Linked DNA regions of Homo sapiens: all the other regions are linked to region 1. Evidence: promoter capture Hi-C in 16 types of primary human blood cells and fetal thymus (Javierre and others, 2016). All regions are on one chromosome and are shown on one strand. Each heading gives the region's core, a stretch centred on a gene start or on the middle of the fragment in contact. The rest is flanking DNA. Distances are from core to core; before and after follow the strand shown. Region 1 holds the start of SNX14 (sorting nexin 14). Region 2 overlaps PNRC1 (proline rich nuclear receptor coactivator 1). Region 3 overlaps IBTK (inhibitor of Bruton tyrosine kinase). Region 4 has its middle 5.1 kb from the start of RNGTT. Region 5 overlaps IBTK (inhibitor of Bruton tyrosine kinase). Region 6 overlaps RNGTT (RNA guanylyltransferase and 5'-phosphatase). Region 7 has its middle 3.7 kb from the start of IBTK.

Region 1 (3,454 bases), core at 331-2,830:
ACACCTATTTTAGTATTAACAGATAAAGATACTTAAAAACTGCCAAAGTGAAATTAATAAATGTTTAAATATGTACCTAGAAATATTAAAAAATGGTAAGCTTTCCAATGATGTTACACTGTAGTCTTTTAAATGGTTTAGTCACAAACAGAAAAGTGTATTTGTGATGTTTAGACAATAATAGCTAATCGTGAGGATCAGTGAAATTGTTTACTTTTATACACCACTGTGGAGTTGGTACCACCATTCTACAAAGCAGTTTGACTGTATCAAGAATGTTTGTTTTTACCCTTTGACCCAGTAATTGTATTAAAGTTGATTCTAAATAATTAGAAATGTGCATAGGTTTATCATCAAGGATGGTAATATCAATGGACTTTAGTGGTTAGCAATAATGGAACAGGATGGTACATTCTGATAAAGGATAATAATGCATCATTAAAGATCCATGTTTTTGTAATACGGGAAAATATTCATGAAACTACATACATCATTAAAAAACATTTGTTTCCCCACTTTGAAGGATAAGATCCTAGGAAAGAGAGATGACAGGCACAGGCTCTGTCTTTAGAACGTGTTCAAATTCCGGCTTTGTTAGTTTTATGATCCTAAGTTCCTTTCTGTCTCAGTAATTTGCCTGTATAATGATTGAAACTATAGTACTGTACCTACACCATGGGGTGAATGCATGAAGGTCAAATGAAAGTGCTTAGTGTCTGTACCGCCTAAGTAAATTTTCGCGATAATAGTCTTCCTGCATCTCTCACTGTAGCGGACAATACAGAAAAAAAAATTTAGAAATGTGATGAATTAGTAAAGGGAAAACCCCATGAGACTCTATAAGAGGGATTTTACCTAATCTGCCAACCTGCCTCTTCCAAGCACTCGGATTTTGGTTGGGCTCCCGGAGCCGGCGTGAATTGAGCTCTACCCTTGCCCGTGAGCGCGCAAAAGAGATTTTGTTGGTGGGGTGGCGGCCTGATGAGTTGTAGTCTTTATTCTAGGGCTGTTTTACTCGCCACCCCCCCAGCCCCCAACACACCCCTTTTAAAATACCGACTCAAAGGCGTCCTCCTATCCCCCTCTCCCTTAGGCGTCACGCAAAGCTCGGACCTGCTCCCACCCGGAGCCGAGTGTACGGTGAGGCGCGGAGCGTTGCGGGGTCGGGGAAGCGCTACCACCCGCTCCATCCCTCTGCGGGTTCGTGTCACGAAGACTACAGTTCCCAGCGGGCTCCACGAGCTCCGGTTGCCCCTCAGGCAGCGCCCGGCGGCTACGGGGGTGCTGTAGTTTCTTCCGGGCTCCCTACAACCTTCTTCCCTCTCCTCCGCAATACAGGCAGTTACTGGGTGCTGGGGCTGTCCTTTGATTTCCGGAAATGGCCGGTCGCCAGTGTTGTCAGAGTTTCCACGGAAGACTGCGCGCTACTCCGGCCAGGAGGGCGGAGCGGCGAGACGCTAGAGGCTTTGCGCTGGGTGACGACTTCGGGCACGTTCTACGGCCGTTCCTCTGGTCGGCTGGGGACCGCGGCCGCGCACGCGCGGCGGGGGGCGTGGGGCTGGGCCCAGCCGGACGCGACCTCAGCCTGCGGCGGCTAACTGCCGGTAGGCGTCTGTGTGCGCCGCCAAGTCGGTGGGGCGGGGACGCGAGGTGTGGATGGGGGGTCGCCTTGACCTCTGCCTCAGCCAGTAGCGCAGTCTCGGCCTCGCCGTTACGGAGATGGTGCCCTGGGTGCGGACGATGGGGCAGAAGCTGAAGCAGCGGCTGCGACTGGACGTGGGACGCGAGATCTGCCGCCAGTACCCGCTGTTCTGCTTCCTGCTGCTCTGTCTCAGCGCCGCCTCCCTGCTTCTTAACAGGTAACGCCGCAGCGCGGAGCCTGGGCGGCGGCTTTTCTCCGAAGGTGCAGACGCCCGGCCCGTGCTGCTTAACCGTGCGGAGGCCGCGTAGCTGCGGGACTGGGGACCAGTGGGGAGAGCGAGCTCCGCAGAGGAGCGGCCTCGGGGAGCACGGCGGAGCGTCGAGGCCGGAAGCACAGGCCGGTGGGGTGGGGTTGATTGCCTCCTTTCCCGAGGCTTCGTCTCCTGAGCTACCTTTTTCTCATCCATTTCTCAAAACGAGTTCTTCATCTTCGTTGCTTTTCAAAAGTGAAATCCGTGTGTCGGCTCAAATTGAGACTGTACACAGGCAGTCAAGTCAGCTGACGGAGGAGTGTTCAAGGTCCAGTTCGTAGCCGCAATTTTAGGCAGAATCCGCACACCTGCAGCGCGTTCTTCCATCTCCCCACCTCCCACCCCCTCAGCTTGCAGCTGAAGCTTTTCCCGCAGTATTGTTGAATAAAACAGACGATCATAAAGATTTGTTGGACAGAAATCAGAAAGCAAAGTGGTACCCGTCCCAACATCCTTAGAATTTTTTATTTTTGAGACGGAGTCTCGCTCTGTCACCCAGGCTGGAGTGCAGTGGTGCGGTCTCGGCTCACCGCAAGCTCCTCCTCCCGGGTTCACGCCATTCTCCTGCCTCAGCCTCCCGAGTAGCTGGGGCTACAGGCGCCCGCCACCACGCCACCACGCTACCACGCTAATTTTTTTGTATTTTTTTTTTTTTTTTTTAGTAGAGACGGGGTTTCACCGTTTTAGCCAGGATGGTCTCGATCTCCTGACCTCGTGAGCCGCCTGCCTCGGCCTCCCGAAGTGCTGGGATTACAGGCGTGAGCCACCGCACCCGGCCACATCCCTATAATATTCTTAAGAGGACTTGATGCCACCCTCCCCAAAAAAACCTGAAATATTCCGAAAGGTTAAAATTGATAAATTCAATTGACATTTTGAAATCAGAAGATTCTGCCCCCGAAATAAACTTGTTTTACTTCATTTTACTATTTCAAGAAATTGTTGCGATGCAATAGGTAGTAGAGGAGACTTTTCCATTAAAATTAACACCAGATTTGCTTTTGGTGGAAAGAAATCTGAGATAGTTCTCATTGACAGCATCCGCAAGCTGTTTTCTCTGATGTTTTGAACAGGCAACCATTCTTACTCTTTATCTTAAGGTAGTTGATTCCCAAGGATAGCAACAGGGAGGAATGCGCAAGGAATTTGGTAACTTCATTTTTCTCTGGTGTAACCATTATTTGTGACTATGTTGAAGTTAGATTTCTTCCCTAAAAGTGGCCTTGCTTTCTTGTTGATTCTTGGTTTAAATATTATTGAGCTTAAATAGTAGTTGATGTTTTACTGAGAAGTGTGCTCTGTGATGGTGAGATGTTTGAACTGTAGGAGTGTGGGAGAAGTGGGATCCTTAACAGAGGGAACACTAATTATTATTTGCTTTCTGTCATCTGGAAGGTATTCCAAGCTAGACTAACAGGTTTAGTATGAAAGAAATGTAAGCTTCATATGATTTTTATTTTTATTTTTATTTTTGAGACGGAGTCTCACTCTCTTGCCCAGGC
Region 2 (3,454 bases), core at 338-2,837, 3.5 Mb before region 1:
CATCTGCTCAAACTTTTACCTCACAATTTTTTTCCTTTTTTGTGTGTCAAATACTTATCTTTTAAGGCTCAACTCAATTTTTTTTTTCATTTTTTTGAGATGGAGTCCTGCTCTGTCACCCAGGCTGGAATGCAGTGGCGCGATCTCGACTTACTGTAACCTCCGCCTCCCGAGTTCAAGCAATTTTCTGCCTCAGCCTCCTGAGTAGCTGGGATTACAGGTGCCTGCCACCAAGCCCGACTAATTTTTTTCTATTTTTAGTAGAGACAAGGTTTTACCATCTTGGCCAGGATAGTCTTGAACTCCTGACCTCGTGATCCATCCGCCTCAGCCTCCGTAGGTGCTGGGATTACAGGCGTGAGCCACCATGCCCAGCTCAACTCACTGTTACTTTCTAAGGTGTCAGATTCCCAAAGAGAAAATTTTCTCACCAAAATTAGTCCCTTCACCCTAAGAGACTTTACCTTTTTCTCTCTTCAGGCATTTGTTGTTGTAGAGTGGGGAATATAGCTTGTATTTTAGTTATATTTGTCTTTTCTCCCCATCCCACCTAAACTTTCAGCTCTGCCATTTATCCTTCTATTTCCTGAACATACGTTACACATAAGCCCTCACACATTAAACTGCAGACATACTGCTCAAAATGACAAGAGCTGAGAAATGTTGGACAAGGAAAGAAGGGTGGTTGAGGCGGTAGGACTTATATTACATTGTGTAGGAATTTTTATAACCATGTGCAAAAATGTGTTGTTAAAACCTGTTAATGTGTCCCTTTCTAGAATCACAAACTGATTTGGGAGAGATGTCAGAACTCACTGTAGTCAGTCATTAGTATTAATATTTACAACACATTACTAACAAAAGCTAAAATTGGTGACTAAAAATTGGGGGCATCTTCAAACTAAACTTCTAAATGAGCTTCCCTTCCATTTGTGAGGAAGGTGTATCTGCATTTGTAAGGAAGGAATGGTGACTCACACAAAACATCAAACAGAAGTTCCTTTGTATATTCGATCTTCTTTACTTGACCTGATTGCTTAACATTCCCACTCAAAATCTGTCTCCCTTACTTTCTCTTGGCCTTTTTTTTGAGACAGCGTCTGTTACCCAGGCTGGAGTGCAGTGGCCTGATCCTAGCTCAATTGCAATCTCCACTTCTCAGGCTCAAGAGATGCTCCCGTCTCAGCCTCTAGAGTAGTCAAGTACTATGCTCAAAAACCTCAATGCTGCTCCTGGTAAGAAAATGTAGATTATGGCCAGGCATGGCGGCTCACACTCAGCCAGTAAAGTAGAAGTCAAAAAAATCCAACCACACAAAATCATCTCCTAGTCACACATTCAAACATGAGAAACAGTCACACACAAAGAGTCAAGACTATTTTAAAAGGGGGGGCCAAATTATTATTATTTTAAAATTTGATTACAACCAATTTTGTTGGCATTAAAATTAGAGGCATTAAGCTGGAATGGATATATACCAAAACCAGAAATTGAGTTTAGCAAAAATGGGAATAGGAGTTGTTCAGTAATTTCAGATTACAAATCAATTTAGAGAAACAAACCCCATGCTTACATTGATTGTGCCACAGATTTAAACTTCAGTAGTGCATTAGTAAACTGTTCACATTTAGATCTTCACCTTGAGATTTGACAGCTGTTTCTTGAAAAAAATCTCAGTACCTTGTGCAAATAAAATCGGTCTTCCATGTGCCTTAGCACACACTTAAAATTTATCCATTGTATATATACAAAACACCTGCAATGTGGGCAGGGCAAAATACATACTTTCATAACAAAACTATAATATACCTCTCAAGTATGAACAATATACACATAATACATGGTATACAGTATTTACAAAATATAAAATATAATACAAGCTGTTTGTATGTAATTTTTTAAACTCATCTTTTGCAATTGTATGTTGCAACAAGGCAAATTTCCATTTCTGTACCAATTTTCTCAAGAGTCCAGGGATATGGGAAAAATTATGTTTTACACACATACTGAAATCTGAAATCTAAGTTTGAACTTTGAGGAGCGTTTTTAAGTGTACTGCCATCAGCTCCCTGTTTTGGTTGGAATTTTCAACAGTGCTTCCCATCCAGTGACTAGGAGGCTTTGGAAGAACACTAGGAGAAGGTGGATCACTAAACTTTGCCCCAGCATAATTTTCCTTTTGGCTCACTTCAGTTAGAAATGCTGATTTCTTCAAATGCGAATTTTTAATGTTCTCGGTATTTTTAAAAGGCTTTTTTTCCTGCTTCTGAATTCTGTCAGATGAAACAGAATCCTGCCAAAAGTTGTTTTCATTTCTTTTTGCAGAGGTGATCTTGGTTAGTGGCAAGTTATATTTGCTTTTCTGTCTGTTTATCTTTGGTTGCTCATACAAGTGTATACCATGAACAAGCTGGCCATGGGGAAGGGCAATTTTCTCCGATTTTCCCATCTTTGATTTTAAAACCTACAAAGACAAGAACACAAAAGTAAATATAGTTTCTAGATAAAAATCAGTTATGAACCTCATATCACATATCTAGTTTTGTTGTGTTTAAGTTTGCCCACAGCCATAGAAAAGAACAAAATTATGTTCTTTGTGACAACACGTATGTAGCTGGGGGCCATTACCCTAGACGAATTAATGCAGAAACAGAAAACCAAATATCGCAAGTTCTCACTTACAAGTGAATTTGGGAGCTAAACACTGGGTACAACATGGATATAGTGGGGAACAACAACAGACACTAGGCACTACTAGAAGGGGGGTTGAGAGAGAGATGGGGACCTACTGGGTACTATGCTCACTACCTGGAATGGGATCATTCATACTCCAAACCTCAGCATCACGAAATATACCCATGTAGCAAACCTGCACAAGTACCTCCTTGATCTAAAATAAAAGCTGAAAATTACAAAAACTTTAATTGGGCATGGTGGCTCACGCCTGTAATCCCAGCACTTTGGGAGGTCAAGGCAAGCAGATCGCTCAAGCTCAAGGAGTTCGAGACCAGCCTGGGCAACATAGCGAAACCCCATGTCTACTACAAATATAAAAATCAGCCCGGCGTGGTAACACGCGCCTCGGGAGGCTGGCTGAGGCGGGATCCCTTCAGCCTGGGAAGGGGAGGATGCAGTGAGCAGAGATCGATCGTGCCACTGCATTCCAGCCTGGAGTGCGATAGAGGCAGACTCTGTCTCAAGAAAAAAAAAACAACAAAAAACTTAAATTTCCCTTGACTTTTAAGTTCACTCTTGTTCGCCACTAAAAATGCAGTTAATCACCACTGCTAGTTACCAGTATGCAACGTGAACCAGTTCTAAAATGTCAAACTAAAAAAAGTCTGAAATAACCCAAGTCCACCTTTCTACAACTGTAAGGAAGACTAATGAGCTCTCTTCCAAATACGAGTGCCAGAAACAATCTTTGCTGTGTACCTCCTTTCTGGTTTAGTAA
Region 3 (3,454 bases), core at 625-3,124, 3.4 Mb after region 1:
GTTGGCCAGACTGGTCTTGAATTCCTGATCTTGTGATCCGCCCACCTCGGCCTCCCAAAGTGCTGGGATTTCAGGTGTGAGCCACTGTGCCTGACTGACTTATTTTTATCTGTAGTGTAGATTTCATTTAGGTCGAAAATCATCTATTTCTTTTTTTTTTTTTTTTGAGACAGAGTTTCGCCCTCATTGCCCAGGCTGTAGTGCAGTGGTATGATCTCAGCTCACTGCAACCTCTGCCTCCCAGGTTCAAGCGGTTCTCCTGCCTCAGCCTCCCTAGTAGCTGGGATTACAGGCGCCTGCCACCACCCCTGACTAATGTTTATATTTTTAGTAGTGACGGGATTCCACCACATAGGCCAGGCTGGTCTCGAACTCCTGACCTCAGGTGATCCACCCGCCTCGGCCTCCCAAAGTACTGGGATTACAGGCTTGAGCCACCACACCTGGCCAGAAATCATCTATTTCTAATGATTGTAGAATTTTGTCATTATGGTATAACTTCCTCTGGTGGGTCTCCAATATTATTTAGTATCCCCAAGTTTTTCTATTAAATGTTTGTTTTTGTTAATATTAAACAGTAGAATGAGTTTTGTTTGTTAAAAATAGAAAGGAAAGAATGTAATTTTCAAGCTTCATTTAACCTAAAGGTAAGAATTTAATTAGAACTTTGGTGAGTTTTTCTGCCTAATTTAGTTAAGAATCTTTCTATTGCTTCACTTTTTTTAAAAAATGTTTTTTTAAATATAGGAATTTCAGTTATATCACAACATTATGACTTTGGATACATATTAGTTGTTATTTGTATATGTGCTATATCACTTAACATTTTGGATATATATTAGTTAATATTTATATATGTGTATATAAAAGTAGCTTTTATTCAAAATATCCTTTATGAAACTGGCTCACAGCTGATAAATCTAAATTATACTCTGATTATTAATCTCACATATCACTTATCATTTCAGTGAAGTTGGGGGTTGGGCTTTATAGGTAAATGAATGCTTTGCAAAGTAACCTTTTATGTCTTTTAGTCCTGTCAGCCCTCCTGTTGTGGATCTCAGAACTATCATGGAAATAGAAGAAAGTAGACAAAAATGTGGAGCTACACCAAAGTCACATTTAGGGTGGGTTGAAAACATTACAAAAGATCATTTCATGTTGTATTTCTGCCCTAAGAATTGGACAGACTTACTGCATCTTTCTTATTATTTTTCTGCATTTGATGTTATAGTTAATTATACATCCTTTTCTGGGCAATTTAGCCTCCATAATATTATTTCTTAAATATGTGCTAAAGATAGAGTTGAGTTGATAATCCAGCTCTTGTAGAATACAGTATTACATCCCAGAAACTTGACTCTAAAATGATCATTGTGGACTATTGGCTACAAAAGCCAAAGAGTTAAGGCTTGTGATGCAAGTTCTTTTTGAAATTTGTGATATGTTGGAGGGCTCATATGTAGCTATTACTTGATCATTGTTAGTATAAACTGATATTTTCATTGTTGAAACTTGTGAGCATTTTGATCCAATAATGGTAAAATAACATGAAATAAATAGAAAACATTATTATTACCAGTAACCTTTATTAAGCAGAAATTAATGTTAATTGATATAATTTCTAGCAAAATGATTTCTCATGGAATTAAACTTTGTCAGAAGAAACCACTGAAACTAATTGGTTTAATTTCTAGCAAAACAGTTTCTCATGGAGTTAAACTTTCTCAGAAGCAACGAAAAATGATTGCATTGACTACCAAGGAAAACAATTCAGGAATGAATAGCATGGAAACAGTTTTATTCACTCCTTCAAAAGCCCCCAAACCAGTGAATGCATGGTATGCTCTTATTTTTATTAAAATTAATATAGATTTGTGCATTTGCTTTTAAGGTAGTACTTGACTTTGGAGTTCCTTCCCACTTCCAGTGTTTCTAAAGTCTTTTCAAGTATTTTATCTCCCCTTCTGTTTTCAAGTTAAAAATTGGAACTTGGGAAACAAACACTTTTTTTGTTGTTGTTTATTTTCTTTTAATTTGGGGTGTTTTGACATACAAGTCATGATGACACACATCATCATACACATCAAAATGTGGATATATTTTTCATATATAGATATAATTTCTTCTTGATATTCTAATTAGATTTTCTTGCTAAAGTGATTTAAAATTTATTTTTATTTTTTATAAGAAATTAAATACATCAGACACATATAAAAAGAAAACTTTATTTATACTACGCTAATTTCTTTGTCCTTCTGCATGCTCCATAAATATCTTTACATGGTTATAATCATAGCTTGTTATTTTTCACTTTTTAAAACACTGCTCCTTACTTAATGTTGTGTTTACATTTTCTCCATTGGAATTTACACATAGTGGCAGCATTGGAATAACCTCCAAAGAGGTCAGATATAATTTTGAGATATGTAAAATAGGTTGTACTCCAGCTTCCGTTCCATCCTTCCTTTTCTTGTAACTTAAAATATCTGGAAACCAATACTGGAGAACTACATGGAGAATGTGAAGCCTTACGAAGAAATCAGTAGAACTCTCTTTCTCTCACAAGGACTGGGGAGGATCTTGGCAGCTACCCATGGTTTAGGGGAATCCTTTCAATGTTTCTAAGGCCACATTATTCTGTTTGTAAGAAGGAATATTTTTCTCAATTAAAATGTTAATTATTTTGAAGAAAGTGGCAAATAATTTTATTCTAAATGTTACCAATGGAACTAAATCAGTGCTTGTTAGGGCTATTAGTAGGTCCAAAGCATGGTTACTGAAAAAGAAAGTAAAATAAGAGGTAAGAACACCCAAGGAAAAGAGAAAAGAGGGTAAAACTGGAGAGGATGAGCTTAGCAGAATTTTAAAATTTATCAGTATTTGTTAAGCACCTTCTAAATGTAAGGGACTGTGCTAGTTTCTGATGATAAGGCAATGAACAAGACAGATTTGACTGTTACCCTTGTAGGGTTTATGATATGACTGCTGCAATACTGAGTTGTGCTTTCTTTAAACAAAGGTATGGAAAATCCAAAAAGGGGGAAAAGTTATTGGAACCACTGTCAAGTACTAAATTGCAGTTTGAGAGAATTAACTAAGCTCATGATGAAGCTTTGGACTTGGTAATATAGCTGTAAGCATGCCATCAATCATTTTCCTTAAGCAAAAAGTGAACGAGTGAAAGTTGTTTCACTTATTTTTTTGGAGGCATATTCCTTAGAGTCCTGTGCTCTTTTGTGATCTGAACCGGGTCTTTTCCAGGCATGCTGAATATCTGTCATCTTGAGATTTTCTTTAACTGTTGTCTTGCAGGTCTTCCCTTCTCTCCAGTGTTTGATCCCCAGTTTTCTTGATCCTGTGGTTTTCTATTTCTTGATACACTCCTTGTTTTGATGTAGCACAACTCCAGTAGGTTTCTGATAAAGGATGTATAAGACATATATTTTTGGAG
Region 4 (3,454 bases), core at 315-2,814, 3.4 Mb before region 1:
TGAGACTGACTCCTGAAAGAGAAGCATACCCTTCAGTCAAAGCCTTGGTAGAATAACCAGTTTCTCCAACTGTGTCCTGTTGCAAAAGAAAAATGGATTCTTACTGCGCTGATGCAAACAACTATATTGCCATAAGTTAAGAATACTCACAGATAGTTTCCAAATTCTGGAGAAGCCAGGCAGAGAGACAAATATGCTCCAATGTTGCGGGAAGTCAGGGACCCCGAACAGAGGGACTGGCTGGAGCCGCAGTACAGGAACATAAATTGTGAAGATTTCATTTTAATATGGACATATATCGGTTCCCAAAATTAATACTTTTATAATTTCTTATGCCTGTCTTTACTTCAATCTCTGAACATAAACTGTGAAGATTTCATTTTAATATGGACATTTATCACTTCCCTAATAAAACTCTTATAATTTCTTATGCCTGTCTTACTTTAGTCTCTTATTCCTATTATCTTCATAAGCTGAGAATGTACGTCACTTCAAGACCACTATTGTGTCAAACTGTACAAATTGATTGTAAAATGTGTGTTTGAACAATATGAAATCAGTACACCTTGAAAAAGAACAGAATAACAGTGATTTTCAGGGAACAAGGGAAGACACCATAAGGTCTGACTGCCTGCTGGGTAGGGCAGAATAGAGCCATATTTTTCTTCTTGCAGAGAGCCTATAAACGGACAAGCAAGTAGGGAAGATATCGCTGAATTCTTTTCCTAGCAAGGAATATTAATAATTAAGAACCTGGGAAAGGAATACATTCCTGGTGGGAGAAGTCTATAAACAGCTGCTCTGGGAGTGTCTGTCTTATGCAGTTGAGATAAGGACTAAAATATGCCCTGGTCTCCTGCAGTACCCTCAGGCTTACTAGGATTGGGAAACCCTGCCCTGGTAAATTTGAGGTCAGACTGGTTCTCTGCTCTTGAATCCTGTTTTCTGTTGTTTAAGATATTTATCAAGACAATATGTGCACAGCTGAACATAGAACCTTATCAGGAGTTTTTGATTTTGCCCTTTGCCTTGTGGTCTTTGCTTTGCCCTTTGCCTCGTGATATTTATTGGCCTAGAAGCATATGATCTTTGTTCTCCTTTTTGCCCTTTGAAGCATGTGATCTTTGTGACCTACTCCCTGTTCATACACCCCCTCCCCTTTTGAAGTCCTTAATAAAAACCTGCTGGTTTTGCGGCTCAGGTGGGCATCATGGACCTACCGGTATGTGATGTCGCCCCTGGTGGCCCAGCTGTAAAATTCCTCTCTTTGTACTCTTTCTCTTTATTTCTCAGACTGGCCGACACTTAGGGAAAATAGAAAGCACCTTCATTGAAATACTGGGGGTGGGTTCCCCCGATACTCCAAATTTTGTTCACAGGAGTATACCTTACTCAATTATTAAAGGGTGTAAATAGTTCAAAGTAAGTTTCCTTGACTCTGAAAAATAAGGGTCAGCAATATTCTAAGCAAAAGTCAAAAAGATTGCTTCAGCTTTCTGAGTTCAGTCAATTTAGTTCTTGATTTGCTTGATATTCATGAACATTTCAGCTCTTTGTGAGTCTTGTACATTTTTCCTTTTGTTACAATCTCCAAAGTCATCAGAAATTGGTATTTGAGAGCACCTGTTAACGTTCTATAGCTCATTATAAATCATCTTTTGAAAAGGATTAAAACAAGACAACAATTGTCTGTGAATAACAAAATGTCCAGGGTAGTTACAGTTAGAAACACAATTGACAAAGAAGTTTGGTTATCTCAGACATTAGAATTTTAGAAATCCCATACAATTTTGGAACATATATTAGTATTATTCACAATAATATAACCTAAAGAAAACTGGGCCGGGTGCAGTGGCTCATGCCTGTAATCCCAGCACTTTGGGAGGCTGAGGAGGGTAGATCGCCTGAGGTCAGGAGTTCAAGACCAGCCTGGCCAAAATGGCAAAACTCTGTCTCTACTAAAATACAAAAAAATTAGCTGGGCATGGTGGTGGGTGCCTATAATCTCAGCTACTTGGGAGGCTGAGGCAGGAAAATCACTTGAACCTAGGAGGCGGAGGTTGCAGTAAGCTGAGATCGTGTCACTGCACTCCAGCCTGGTTACAGAGTGAGACTCTGTCTCAAAAAAAAAAAAAAAAAAAAAAGAAAAGAAAAAAAGAAAACTGAACATTATTTTGGCAATCCCACATACCTAAACATGTCAACTAATCCTGTTTACATTTCTCTTCTGGACACTCTAGGGTCCTTCTGGAGCCTCTGAAAAGCCAGGTGTCAGGAAAGACAATTTTGAAACTGAAGTTTGATTTTTGGGAAGCCTGTTAAATATGTTAGTGGTTTAAAACACTTGATGTTATGAAATAGAATTCCAGATTTCCATAAATTATTTATTTTGCCAAAATTACTCAGAAATTTTAAAGAAGCAAAAACTTTTTATAACCCTTTACAAATTTTGCTAAAGTGCAGATTAGTGCCTTAAGAAAACTTTGTTGTGCTTTTATTTCAATGCTCAATTTACTTTTGAATTTAGCCAATGTTCACACACAGCATTTCTTTTGCAAGATTAATTTTAACCTTCCAGAACTTGTTTAAACCTTTAGCTTTATCTTACCTAATTTAAAACAATTCCCTAACCCTAGGCAAAAATTTACATTTCCATGCCTTCCATTACCTTTTACTAAAAAACACATTTTACTGTTCTTACACACCTTGCATGTAAATCTATTTTCAGTAGTTTCAATTATACATTATAATGGTAACTCCTAGCAATTTTAACTTTAATGTAAAACCTGGTAAGTTGTTTTAATTGTGTGCCAGGTGCAGCGAAGTTTTGACTCCTTCTAGCATAATTAATGACATGGTTAGTTCCATATGTCCCCAGGCCTTATCAATTGTGAAGCCAGCAAGTCAGATAGTTCTCAAAACTCAAAAAGCAGTTTATAACATTAAAACATTTAGCAAGACTAGTACCTAACCTGCATAATTTAGTCCACCTATTTACATTTTGATGACATCTGTTTTTTACCAATAATCTTTAAGGCTGTTTTTATTTCTCAAAGATTAAAGTCACATGAACTGAAAGGTACCACATCTTTTACCTTCCCTTTAAAAAATATATGATCTAAGCACTTGTCTTCCTTTAGGCCAATTAGAGTTTTTTTTTTTTTTTTTTTTTTTTTTTGAGACAGAGTCTTGTTCTGTTGGCCAGGCTGGAGTGCAGTGGTACAATCTCAGCTCAATGCAACCTCTGCCTCCTGGGTTCAAGGGATTCTCCTGCCTCAGCCTCCCAAATAGCTGGGACTACAGGCACGTCACCACACCTGGCTAATTTTTGTATTTTTAGTAGAGACAGGGTTTCACCATGTTGGCCAAGCTGGTCTCAATCTCTTGACTCTCAAATGATCTGCCTGCCTTGGCCTCCCAAAGTGCTGGGATTACAGGCATGAGCCACCACACC
Region 5 (3,454 bases), core at 455-2,954, 3.4 Mb after region 1:
ATTATTTTCATGGAAACTAAGTAGATATGGCCGGTGGTGTTTTACTCATTTGGCAGTTAAACTTTAGCTGCTAAAGAAACAAGAAACAGCCTGGGCAGAGTGGCTTATGCCTGTAATCCTAGCACTTTGGGGGGCCGAGGTGGGAGGATCACTTGAGCCCGTGAGGTGAAGACCAGTCTGGGCAACATAATGAGACCTTGTCTCAATTATTAAAAAAAAACAACAACAAAAAAAAAAGAAGCAAGGAACAAATGTTTGATTGCTTGCATTGAGACAGGCCTGTACTATGATTTGGATTTTCTATTTCTAGAATTACCTAATATCATATTAATATATTCATTCAGAGAAGAGCGTTGGCATCTTTCTAAATATTGTAGTTAAATTAGTTCTTATATGTGTTTTAAAATATAAAAAAGTATAAAAACTAATTTTTATTTTAGATCCTACAGATGTTTATACTTGGGGCGATAATACAAATTTTACCCTGGGTCATGGAAGCCAGAATAGCAAACATCATCCAGAGTTGGTGGATCTGTTCTCCAGGAGTGGGATTTATATCAAGCAGGTATTTTTGAAGTACAATCTATATACTTTTAGAGATGAGAAAGAACTTTTGTATTTGATTGTTCAGCTTTTCATGTGGATTACATAACTTTGTTTCAGGTACAGTAACATTTTAATGAGGAAATCAATCAATAGAACTTTGCTAATTTTATTTTAGATATTGTTAGCCTTAATTATATTTAGACTTTGTAAAATACCCTAAAATATAAGATATTTGTGCAATTAGTGTTAGAAATTAGAAAATGTTATACAGATAGTAGTTTAATTTAAGAGGGTAAAGCTTCTCTTGATTTTCTAGCTTTTCTATTTAACAAACATTACAATTCTGTAAGCTGTTTCTCAAGTGAATTTGTTGTTGAAGCTCAGTGTTATTTTTGATAAGTGAACAACAGTTCTTTTTTTTTTGGTGGCATTAAAAAATAAAATAATTTCAATTTAGAAAACAACACACTTCTTGCAATTTTTTGTAACAAAATAATGTTTTTAGGTTCCAAGCTATTTATCATGAAGAGAATATGTTTAATCTTATGTGAAGTTGGATGACAGCAGTCTGGAAAGGCTATAGAGTTTTTTAACTGAGGGTCTGGTAAACTGCCAGTCATTCTATTTAATTATTTGTATTCACACTGACAAGCAATAAATAATTAAATGTCTAAGTCTCAGTTCTCAGTTTGGATAGTAGATAGAACTAAAATTTCATCACTTATGGAGACAGATAAGCAATGTTTTGGAAGTGTGGGGTTCAAAAATTTGCCCTTAGATGCTTAGGCACGAGTGATGCTTTTTGTGAACCTGAGTTCTTAAATGTAAGTAATTGTAAAATTTTAATAGATACAATTGTAAAGATTTGGTCTGTGGTCTTATATCCTTACAATGCATGATATCTTCTACTTCCCCAGATACAGCTACTGTTGACAAATCTTTCTGTATTACATTGTGTATATGTGTGTATGTATGTGTATCTCTAGCCCCAGTCTTTCTCTTGAACTTTATTTCAGTTGTACTGTGGGTATTCTTTCAAGATATTTAAATTTAGAATGTCTGAAGTGTTATTTTTGCCACTCCTAAACTACCCTATTCAATTTTTAATGTTATAAATCTCAAATTCTAAATCCTGAAGATGATACCTCAGAGCATGTCTATTTAGTTCTTTTCTGTCTCATGAACCTAGGTGCCATGTCCTTTTCAAGCTCTTTTTTTGGACAGTGACAACAGTGTCCTAATTTGACTTTTTGGCTCCATTCATTTCAACCCCAATAATATTCTTCTCCAGAATTATTTGTCTTAAAAAAGAGCTAATTATGTGTTTATCTACTAAGTCACCTTTGGATAAAGTCCAAACTCTGTGGCTTGGAATGTAAGAACTTTTTCAGTCTTCCTAAATTACCATTTCAACTTACATTTCCTACAACTTCCTAGTTATATTCTTTCTGCATTTTGAAGTTCATAAAACTTCTTTGATCCAGAATATGAGCTTGGAGTGTTTTTATCACTATAGTACTGGCTCTTTCCAACTTTCACCTATTATTTATATATGACATACATAACAACACTTAGTTTATATCCTGAGATTGAATTCTTAGACAGTTTTTAGAGCTACTTTGACAACATATCCCTAGTTTGCCCAGGACAGTTCTGGTTTATGATTATTTTCCTAGTGTAATTGTTAGTATCCCCTTTCATTCTCAAAAATGTTTGCATGATAAATAATATGACCACTATATTTAGGGCTCCATAGAACACTATTTTTTAAACTAAAAGTCACAACCTAATGCATCACAACCAGCAATTGAACAAAAAAAGCAATAGAATCCTTAAACTCTAGAGAATATTAAATTTTGAGAGAACAGGAATAAAAACCCATATAGGAATGAAAAGTGGCTAGAGAAGTAGGGAGTAGAATGGTGTCATGAAAGCTAATATTCTTGTGGGTCTTCTCTGTAGATGTGGAGGGAACTTAGGATAATGAAAGGACTTGTGATGGGCGAGAATCAAGCTTGGTGTCCAAGTCTTTAGTGAATGTGAGAGGGGTGAGCAAGATGGTGAGAAATCAGAGCAGGGGCAGCAAGTGTACAAGCTGCTCACCTAGTCTAGAGCTTTTTGCAGACATGCTAGTCAGTTTTTTTTTTCTCATGCTGAGCTTGAGTGGGTCCTCAGACTCCTCCTTAAAATGATAATCCAACCATTAGCAGCCACTAATGATTGATTGGAATTGTGGCACAAGAAAGACACCTGTTTTTCCTTTTTTGAGGTAGTACATGATATACCTTTATTTCATGAGCTGTTACGGAGCAGGGATTTTAAAGACAAGAGTGAGGGAATCATGATGGCATTAGGAAATCAGAGGGTGATTGAAATGTCTGATCCAAAGAAATATATAGTTTGGAATATTTGAGCATATTCCATTTGCCAGGGTTGTGAGTGAACTAGTGTACTCAAAGAGAAAGCCACATTTCAGGTAAGGCAAGGCAGTGGGCGTGTTTTGTGAAGGTATTAAGGATCTAAGGGATTTTATTTACCACAGAATGAGGGTGAAGCAAGCACAGTGGGTAGGTTTGAAGGAAAGAAATCAGTATAAATTTCAGTCAGGGAAGAGAAAGCAAGTATGGGAATATTAATTGAGTACCAGTTATATAGAGAGCCCCATTTGTTATTGAAAAGGGGCTGATTCTATATTATACAGTACCAAATTAATTAACTACCATGAGACAGAGATTATTAATGTTAGTATTATATATTCCAGATAATTAAAAGCGAAAATCCATGCTCAGTTCTTATTTAAAAATTCAGGGGTTTTAGGCTGGGCGCAGTGGCTCATACCTGTAATCCCAGCACTTTGGGAGGCTGAGGCGGGCAGATCACGAGGTCAGGAGATCGAGACCATCCTGGC
Region 6 (3,454 bases), core at 565-3,064, 3.4 Mb before region 1:
GGATTGTGATATTTTCCTGTTGGACGAATCCTTTTTTTCATTATATAATGTCCTTCTCTGTCTTTTTGAACTGTTATTCCTTTAAAGTTTGTTTTGTCTGACATAAGAATAGCTATTCCTGCCCGCTTTTGATTTCCAGTTGTGTAGAATATCTTTTTCTACCCCTTTACCTTAAGTTTATGTGAGTCCTTATGCATTAGGTGAGTCTCTTGAAGGCAGCAGATACTTGGTTTGTGGGTTGTTATCCATTCTGCCATTCTGTGTCTTTTAAAAGGAGCATTTGGGCCATTTCTATTCAATGTTAATACAGTATTGAGATAAGGTACTGTTCTATTCATAATGCTAGTTGTTGCCTAAATACCTTTTTTTAAAAAAATTCTGTTATCGTTTTATAGGCCCTGTGAAATTTATGCTTTAAGGATGTTCTATTTTGGTGTATTTTGAGGTTTTATTTCAAGGTTTAGAACTCCTTTTAGCATTTCTTGTAGTGTGTCTTTCATTTCTTGTAGTGGCCAATTCTCTCAGCATTTGTTTATCTGAGAAAGACTATCTCTCCTTCATTTATGAAGCCTAGTTTTGCTGAATACAAAATTCTTGGCTGACAGTTATTTTGTTTCAGGAAACTAAAGATGGGACCCCAATCCCTTCTGGCTTGTAAGGTTTCTGCTGAGAAATCAGCTGTTAATCTGTTAGGTTTTCCCTTATAGGTTATCTGAGGCTATTGTGTCACAGCTCTTAAGTTTCTGTCCTTCATCTTGACTTTAGATAACCTGATAACTATGTGCCTAGGTAATGATCTTTTTGTGATGAATTTCCTAGGTGTTCTTTGAACTTCTTGTATTTGGATGTCTAGATCTCTAGCAAGGCCAGGGAACTTTTCCTCAATTATTTCCTCAAATAAGTTTTTCAAACTTTTATGTTTCTCTTCTTCCTCAGGAACACCAGTTATTCTTAGGGTTGGCTGTTTAACATAATCCCACATTTCTTGGAGGCTTTGTTCATTTTTAAAATTTTTTTTCTTTGTTTTTGTCTGATTGGGTTAATTTGAAAGCTTTGTCTTCGAGCTCTGAAGTACTTTCTTCTACTTGTTCTAGTCTATTATTAAAATTTTCCAGTGCATTTTGTATTTCTCTAAGTGTGTCTTTCATTTCCAGAATTTGTGATTGTTTTTTCTTTATGATCTCTATTTCTCTCTGGAGAATTTTTCATCCATATCTTGTATTTTTTAAAATTTCTTTAAGTTGATTTTCACCTTGTTCTGGTATCTCCTTGAATAGCTGAATAATCAACCTTCTGAATTCTTTATCTGGCAATTCAGAAATTTCTTCCTGGTTTGGATCCATTGCTGGGGAGCTAGTATGATTTTTGGGGCGTTTTATAGAACCCTGTTTTATCATATTACCAGAATCACTTTTCTGGTTCCTTCTCGTTTGAGTAGACTGTTTCAGTGGAAAGGTCTGAAACTCAAGGCGTCTGTTCAGATTCTTTTGTCCCACAGGCTGATCCCTTGATGTTGTGCTCTCTCCCTTCCTCTAGGGATGGGGCTTGGGGCTTCCTGAGAGCTGGATTGGTGTGATTGTTATTGCTCTTCTGGTTCTAGTCACACTGTGGAGTTACCAGGCCCTAAGGCTGGTGCTGAAGAATGTCTGCAGAGTCCTGTGATGTAATCCATCTTCAGGTGTCCCAGCCATTGATACCAGCACCTGCTCTGGTAGGGGTGGCAGGGCAGTAAGTAGACTCTGTGAGAGTCCTTGGTTGTAGATATATTTAATGTGTCGGCTTTCTCAAATGCTGGTTATGCTAGTAGTGAAGTTGTCATGTGAACAGACTCAGGACCTCTGGTTAGCCAGGATGTTGCAGGCAGTGGTATATTAGCTGTTATTTTATCTTTCCTGGGAGCAGGATTATTTTGTCATGAGTTGCTGTAATGGCCTGAGTTAGTTGGCTTTCAGCCAGGAGGTGGTGCTTTCAAGAGAGCACTAGCTGTGGTGCTAGTTGGGGGATCTAAGTTTGTCTTAAGTTGGCCAGGGTTAGTATTCTGGTTTCTCAGGCAATAGGTGGGGCATAAAGCTCCCAAGAATTTCTGTCTTTTGTGTTCAGCAACCAGGGCAGGTAGAGAAATACCATCAGGTAGGGGAAGGATTAGGTGGATATGGGCTCAGACTCTCCTTGGGTGGGGCTTGCTGTAGCCACTGTAGGGGATGGGGGGTGGTTCTTGGGCCAACAGGTTATGTTCCAGAGAGGATTATGGCTGCCTCTGCTGTGTCATATAGTTTGCCAGGGAAGTGGGGGATAGCTGGTAATGAAAGGCTTCACCCAGCTCCCATGCAGTTGGTGAGGCTGGTCTTACTTCTGTGGTGCACCCCCTCACTCCTCAGACCTTGCCCCTGAATGTAAGTTTCCCCACTGAGAAAGCGAGCATGGCTTTCAGGCCCTACCCCTCCCTGTCTGCCTCCCTGTCTGCCCACTGGGCAGCTTTTGTGCTCATATCTGCAGCAGTTCCCGTTCATTCCCTGGATTCTGCTTAAGAAAATTCATGCCTGGTCAAAATTATTATGAGTTTCATTTGGAAGCTTTTTTCCCCCCATGACCCTCCCTAATTCTGCTGTCTGCTTTCCCCGAGGGCCCCTGTGAGATGTAGTCAGGAATGGCTTCCCTGGGCTTGAGCTGGAGACTGGGAGTGCCTACAAGGCTCTTCCTGCTGCTGCTTCTACTTTTATATTTCACTCGGCTCTCTAAATCCATTTCAGCTGTAGGTAAGATTAAATCCTTCTCCTGTGATCTGGATTTTCAGATTCCCCAATGGGGAATGTGTGTTCAGAGGCAGGTTTTATCCCCCCTCTCACACTTTGGGAGCTCATGGTTTTTCGCCTGTCTCGTGGAATTTACAGCACTGTCTGGCTTCTTTCAACGGATCTGTTTGGCTGTGGCAAGTTCTTGAAATCAGAGAGCAATGAAGTTTGCTACATAGATTGACTCTTCATGAAAGATTTCTCTGTAGCATTTTAGCCATGGTAGAACTTTCTTTAGCCATGGTAGAACTTTCTTCAGGGGTGGAGTCAATTCTCCCCAACCCTGCTGCTGCTTTATCAATCAAGTTTATGTAATATTCTAAATCCTTTGTTGTCACTTCAGCAATATTCACATCTTAACTGGGGCTAGATTCCATATCAGGAAACCACTTTGCTCATTTGTAAGAAGCAACTCCTCATCTGTTAAAGTTTTATCATGAGATTGCAGCAATTTGGTCACGTCTTCAGGCTCCACTTTAAAAAATGTTTGTATTGGCCAGGTGCGGTGGCTCACACCTATAATCCTAGCACTCTGGGAGGCCGAGGCAGGCGGATCACCTGAGGTCAGGAGTTCAAAACCAGCCTAGCCAACATGGTGAAACTGCATCTCTACTAAAAGTATAAAAATTAGCTGGGCATGGTGGCAGGCACCTGTAAACCCA
Region 7 (3,454 bases), core at 749-3,248, 3.3 Mb after region 1:
GGACATCAGCATTCCTTCCCGCAGGGTATAGGGTGGGACTCTCTCGTGGGAGGGTCTTAAGACCCAGAGTCAGAAAGGTGCGGAAACTATGGAAGAAGGGCAGGAGAAGGTCAGAGGCCTGTTCCTGAGGTCTAACATACCCAACTTTATAACAAATGACTGTAACAAGGGCTATGGGAGTTATGAGCCAAGAGCTGTGGATGAAAACCTATATATATATCACAACACCACAGGCTGTTACTTTTTCCCAATCTAGCCTCTTATCCACTTTTCAAGGACTCTTCATAAGTTCTGGACCTTCAATGGCCAAGGTTCTTGTTTTCCAATGCACTGATAAGTTTAAGTATGTTAAGTATGTTTTCTTTTCTTTTTTTTTTTTTTGAGACAGAGTTTTGCTCTTGTCGCCCAGGCTGCAGTACAGTGGTGTGATCTTGGCTCATTGCAACCTCCATCTCCCTGGTTGAAGTGATTCTCCTGCCTCAACCTCCCGAGTAGCTGGGATTATAGGTGTCTGCCACCATGCCCGGCTAATTTTTGTATTTTTAATAGAGATGGGGTTGTACCATGTTGGCCAGGCTGGTCTCAAACTCCTGACCTTAGGTGATCTGCCTGCCTTGGCCTCCCAAAATGCTAGGATTACAGGTGTGAGCCCCCACACCCGGCCTAAGTATGTCTTTTCTATCAGTCCTAGGGATTTATGGCATGAAGAGAAGGCTCCAACCACTATGTATCAAACTCACTCTTTTTCTTTCTTCTCTCTCTCTCTTTCTAATAGTGACAACACAGATTTAATTATTTAGCTAAGTAGAAAAGGAATAGGAGCAATTCTCAGTAAGATGGGCTGAGAAAGGCAAATGATACATTTTTCAGTCATCGTAAAGGGAAGACTTTTAGGAGTTCAGTGTTCTGATTGTAATAGAATACTAAGCCTGTTAAGTTTATAAGTTTGATTTATCTCAAAGTTCTGCTTATTTCATCTAGGCTTTGAATTTACCTTGAATTTCTCCAGTATTTGCCTTGAATTTCAGATTTTTTTGGTGGACTATGCTTTTAAACATAAGATTCTAAAGTTACATTCAAATACTGCCACCTTGTGGGTTATTCTTTGTTTCCCCATCCCACCCTTTAATTTGGTGGAAACAGATTCATCCAGGCAGTTCATTTCAGGTTATGTCAATTAAGTTGCTAAGAGTTGTACTAAGAGCTTCATATATATAATATATACATTATATTATATATATATATAAAATCTCATTTAAACTTCTTAAGAACTTTATGAAAGCAATACTATTAACCCTATTTCAGAGATGAGGAAACTAGGCTTAGAGGGTTTATGTAACTTGCCTGACATCTCACAGATAGTAAGCATAGGAGTAAAACTTTATATCTGGGCACCTTGCCTCTAGAATCCTTGTCTCCAGGAGTAAAACTAACAAATCTAAAAATAAAACAGTGTGATACATTATATGACTAAGTGATAGAAGCAGTATAAAGGGAATAATTGCTAGGAAAGGCCATCCGGAAAGTCTTCACAGATATGTGGGGAGGTGACCCTCTGTAAGTAAGGATTGGAAAGATAATGATTCTATAGGAAGAACGCAGCTGGGACCATACACCTGAATCCAGAAGAACACAAACACCCTATGTGGCCTATTGTTTTGTCTGCCTCACCCTGCTTTCTTTTGGGGAACTACTCTTCACTCTGCTTTAACCATGACTCTAATAGAGGATGTCAATCATGTTATCCTTGATTCCTCACCTAATCCAAGCCGACATGAGTCCGTCAGGTGCCTAGAACTTTTGTGCTTGAGATAATAGGCTCAGTGCTATCTTCCCTAATGGCAAACCTGAGGTGAGATATGTGATTTATGTGAGGTACTTAATTTGTGTGCCAGAAAGTTGTAGTCAACCAGTGATGTCCTGTAGAAGATGGTGTGGAGTAGAAGAGAATGAGGCTAAACAATAAGGTTCCAGTCATCTCTAGGCCAGCTGCACTATTGATCTTCCTCTAAAAATCATTCTTGTAGAACCTAATCAGGTTTGGGTTTCTAATCAAATTCTAGTGTTTTCTCTTCTGCCACCAGCACTGTCATTTCCTACTCCTATACAACTTGAAAGACAGCAAAATACACATAATGATGTCAGTACTTTTAATTATAAAGGATAGTACTACCAATTTATTTTGGAAAAATGGTATTTAGGGAGTTTATTATAGATGCCATGTGGCTTAGAAATATTTCTGCAGTGCTCCACTCTTGATGCCTGTACTATTCTTTTTCTACTCCCTCCGCCCATCACTGCAATCTTTTTATTTATTTATTTATTTATTGAGACAGAGTCTCGCTCTTTCACCCAGGCCGGAGTGCAGTGGCGCTATCTTGGCCCACTGCAATCTCCACCTCCCAGGTTCACGCCATTCTCCTGCCTCAGCCTCCCGAGTAGCTGGGACTACAGGTGCCCGCCACTGCGCCCGGCTAATTTTTTTTGTATTCTTTAGTAGAGATGGGGTTTCACCGTGTTAGCCAGGATGGTCTCGATCTGCTGACCTCGTGATCTGCCTGCCTCGGCCTCCTGGGATTACAGGCATGAGCCACTGTGCCTGGCCCATCACTGCAATCTTTTAAAGTCATCTCTGGTTTTTTTATTTTTTACTTTAAAAAATAAAACTACTTTAGAAACTCTAGTCAATTATTTTTCCAAACTTTGATTTTTTTAATCATTCAAGTAATATTTAAATTATTGCAATGAAAATTACAAAAGTCAAAATGATAGAAATTAAGAATCACCCATAATCCCACCATAGAAACAATCATTGTAGATATATTTTGACCTATTCTTTCATGTGTAAACACAAAATTTTTTTAAAAATCAAACAAAATGGCTCATTTTGATTTCTTCCTCCCTTAACCACATCTACAATATATTTTTCATTTAATTGTATTTCATTTGTACTATTTCCTAATTATTTTAATATTTTGTCTTGCAAATAACCAGTAAGTACTTTTGAAAGCATCTAACTTTCCTGGGAAAAGGGGAGCAATTCTACATTCCTTTGACTGGAATGTTATTTCTTTCCTGCTTCATCTACTTATCTCCTCGTTATCTAGTTATCTGAGTTATCTTCTGCTCAGTCTTTAGTTCATGTGTCACATCTTTTGGAAGTCAGATAAATCTATCAGATTAATACTTATAAACGTTGCAATTTATTATGCTTGGGAATATCTGGGTCTACATGTATTTTTGTTCACTGTTGGATCCCCAATGCTTACCACAAATTGTCCGAGACCTGGTAATTTTAACTTTTATTTATTACTATTTTTTGAGACAGGATCTCACTCCGGTTGCCTAGGCTGGAGTGCAGTGGCGTTATCTTGACTCGTTGCAGCGGCGTGATCTTGACTCACTGCAGCCTTGATCTCCTAGGGCTCAGGGTATTCTCCCACTTCAGCTTCCT

The links. Contacts are between HindIII fragments. The CHiCAGO score rates a contact against its expected background, and 5 or more counts as called.
Region 2: a fragment that was not itself captured here is called in contact with the fragment with the promoter of SNX14 in region 1 in 7 of 17 cell types (non-activated CD4 T cells, total B cells, naive CD8 T cells and 4 more); the score reaches 22.7 in non-activated CD4 T cells.
Region 3: a contact is called between a fragment that was not itself captured here and the fragment with the promoter of SNX14 in region 1, in 5 of 17 cell types (M1 macrophages, M2 macrophages, total B cells and 2 more). The highest score is 12.3, in M1 macrophages.
Region 4: a contact is called between a fragment that was not itself captured here and the fragment with the promoter of SNX14 in region 1, in 1 of 17 cell types (monocytes). The highest score is 6.2, in monocytes.
Region 5: a contact is called between a fragment that was not itself captured here and the fragment with the promoter of SNX14 in region 1, in 4 of 17 cell types (M2 macrophages, non-activated CD4 T cells, total CD8 T cells and 1 more). The highest score is 13.6, in M2 macrophages.
Region 6: a fragment that was not itself captured here is called in contact with the fragment with the promoter of SNX14 in region 1 in 1 of 17 cell types (non-activated CD4 T cells); the score reaches 14.2 in non-activated CD4 T cells.
Region 7: a contact is called between a fragment that was not itself captured here and the fragment with the promoter of SNX14 in region 1, in 6 of 17 cell types (total B cells, total CD8 T cells, naive CD8 T cells and 3 more). The highest score is 14.7, in total B cells.

What each region holds. Positions count from the first base shown.
Region 1 is chr6:85,591,984-85,595,437 of GRCh38, reverse strand. It overlaps SNX14 (sorting nexin 14), which reads left to right and starts at 1,580. Exons shown (of 29, transcript NM_153816.6): 1 at 1,580-1,859. The coding sequence starts at 1,720. RefSeq lists enhancers at 1,288-1,407, 1,718-1,887, 1,336-1,919, 1,920-2,503, 2,504-3,089 and a silencer at 1,438-1,657. The HindIII fragment of the contact is 2,215 bases long and covers 103-2,317 here.
Region 2 is chr6:89,082,763-89,086,216 of GRCh38, reverse strand. It overlaps PNRC1 (proline rich nuclear receptor coactivator 1), which reads right to left. Exons shown (of 2, transcript NM_006813.3): 2 at 1,057-2,464. The coding sequence ends at 2,021. Among named protein-coding and RNA genes, the nearest start is that of PNRC1, 3.7 kb to the right of the region's middle. RefSeq lists enhancers at 656-1,182, 1,183-1,710. The HindIII fragment of the contact is 4,237 bases long and covers 1-3,454 here.
Region 3 is chr6:82,189,460-82,192,913 of GRCh38, reverse strand. It overlaps IBTK (inhibitor of Bruton tyrosine kinase), which reads left to right. Exons shown (of 29, transcript NM_015525.4): 24 at 1,035-1,127; 25 at 1,698-1,841. Among named protein-coding and RNA genes, the nearest start is that of IBTK, 57 kb to the left of the region's middle. The HindIII fragment of the contact is 2,484 bases long and covers 633-3,116 here.
Region 4 is chr6:88,967,000-88,970,453 of GRCh38, reverse strand. No RefSeq gene overlaps it. Among named protein-coding and RNA genes, the nearest start is that of RNGTT, 5.1 kb to the right of the region's middle. The HindIII fragment of the contact is 4,896 bases long and covers 1-3,454 here.
Region 5 is chr6:82,228,829-82,232,282 of GRCh38, reverse strand. IBTK (inhibitor of Bruton tyrosine kinase) reads left to right here. Exons shown (of 29, transcript NM_015525.4): 4 at 441-565. Among named protein-coding and RNA genes, the nearest start is that of IBTK, 17 kb to the left of the region's middle. The HindIII fragment of the contact is 1,716 bases long and covers 847-2,562 here.
Region 6 is chr6:88,950,991-88,954,444 of GRCh38, reverse strand. All of the region lies in intron 1 of RNGTT (RNA guanylyltransferase and 5'-phosphatase), which reads left to right. Among named protein-coding and RNA genes, the nearest start is that of RNGTT, 11 kb to the left of the region's middle. The HindIII fragment of the contact is 1,522 bases long and covers 1,054-2,575 here.
Region 7 is chr6:82,249,765-82,253,218 of GRCh38, reverse strand. No RefSeq gene overlaps it. Among named protein-coding and RNA genes, the nearest start is that of IBTK, 3.7 kb to the right of the region's middle. The HindIII fragment of the contact is 4,001 bases long and covers 1-3,454 here.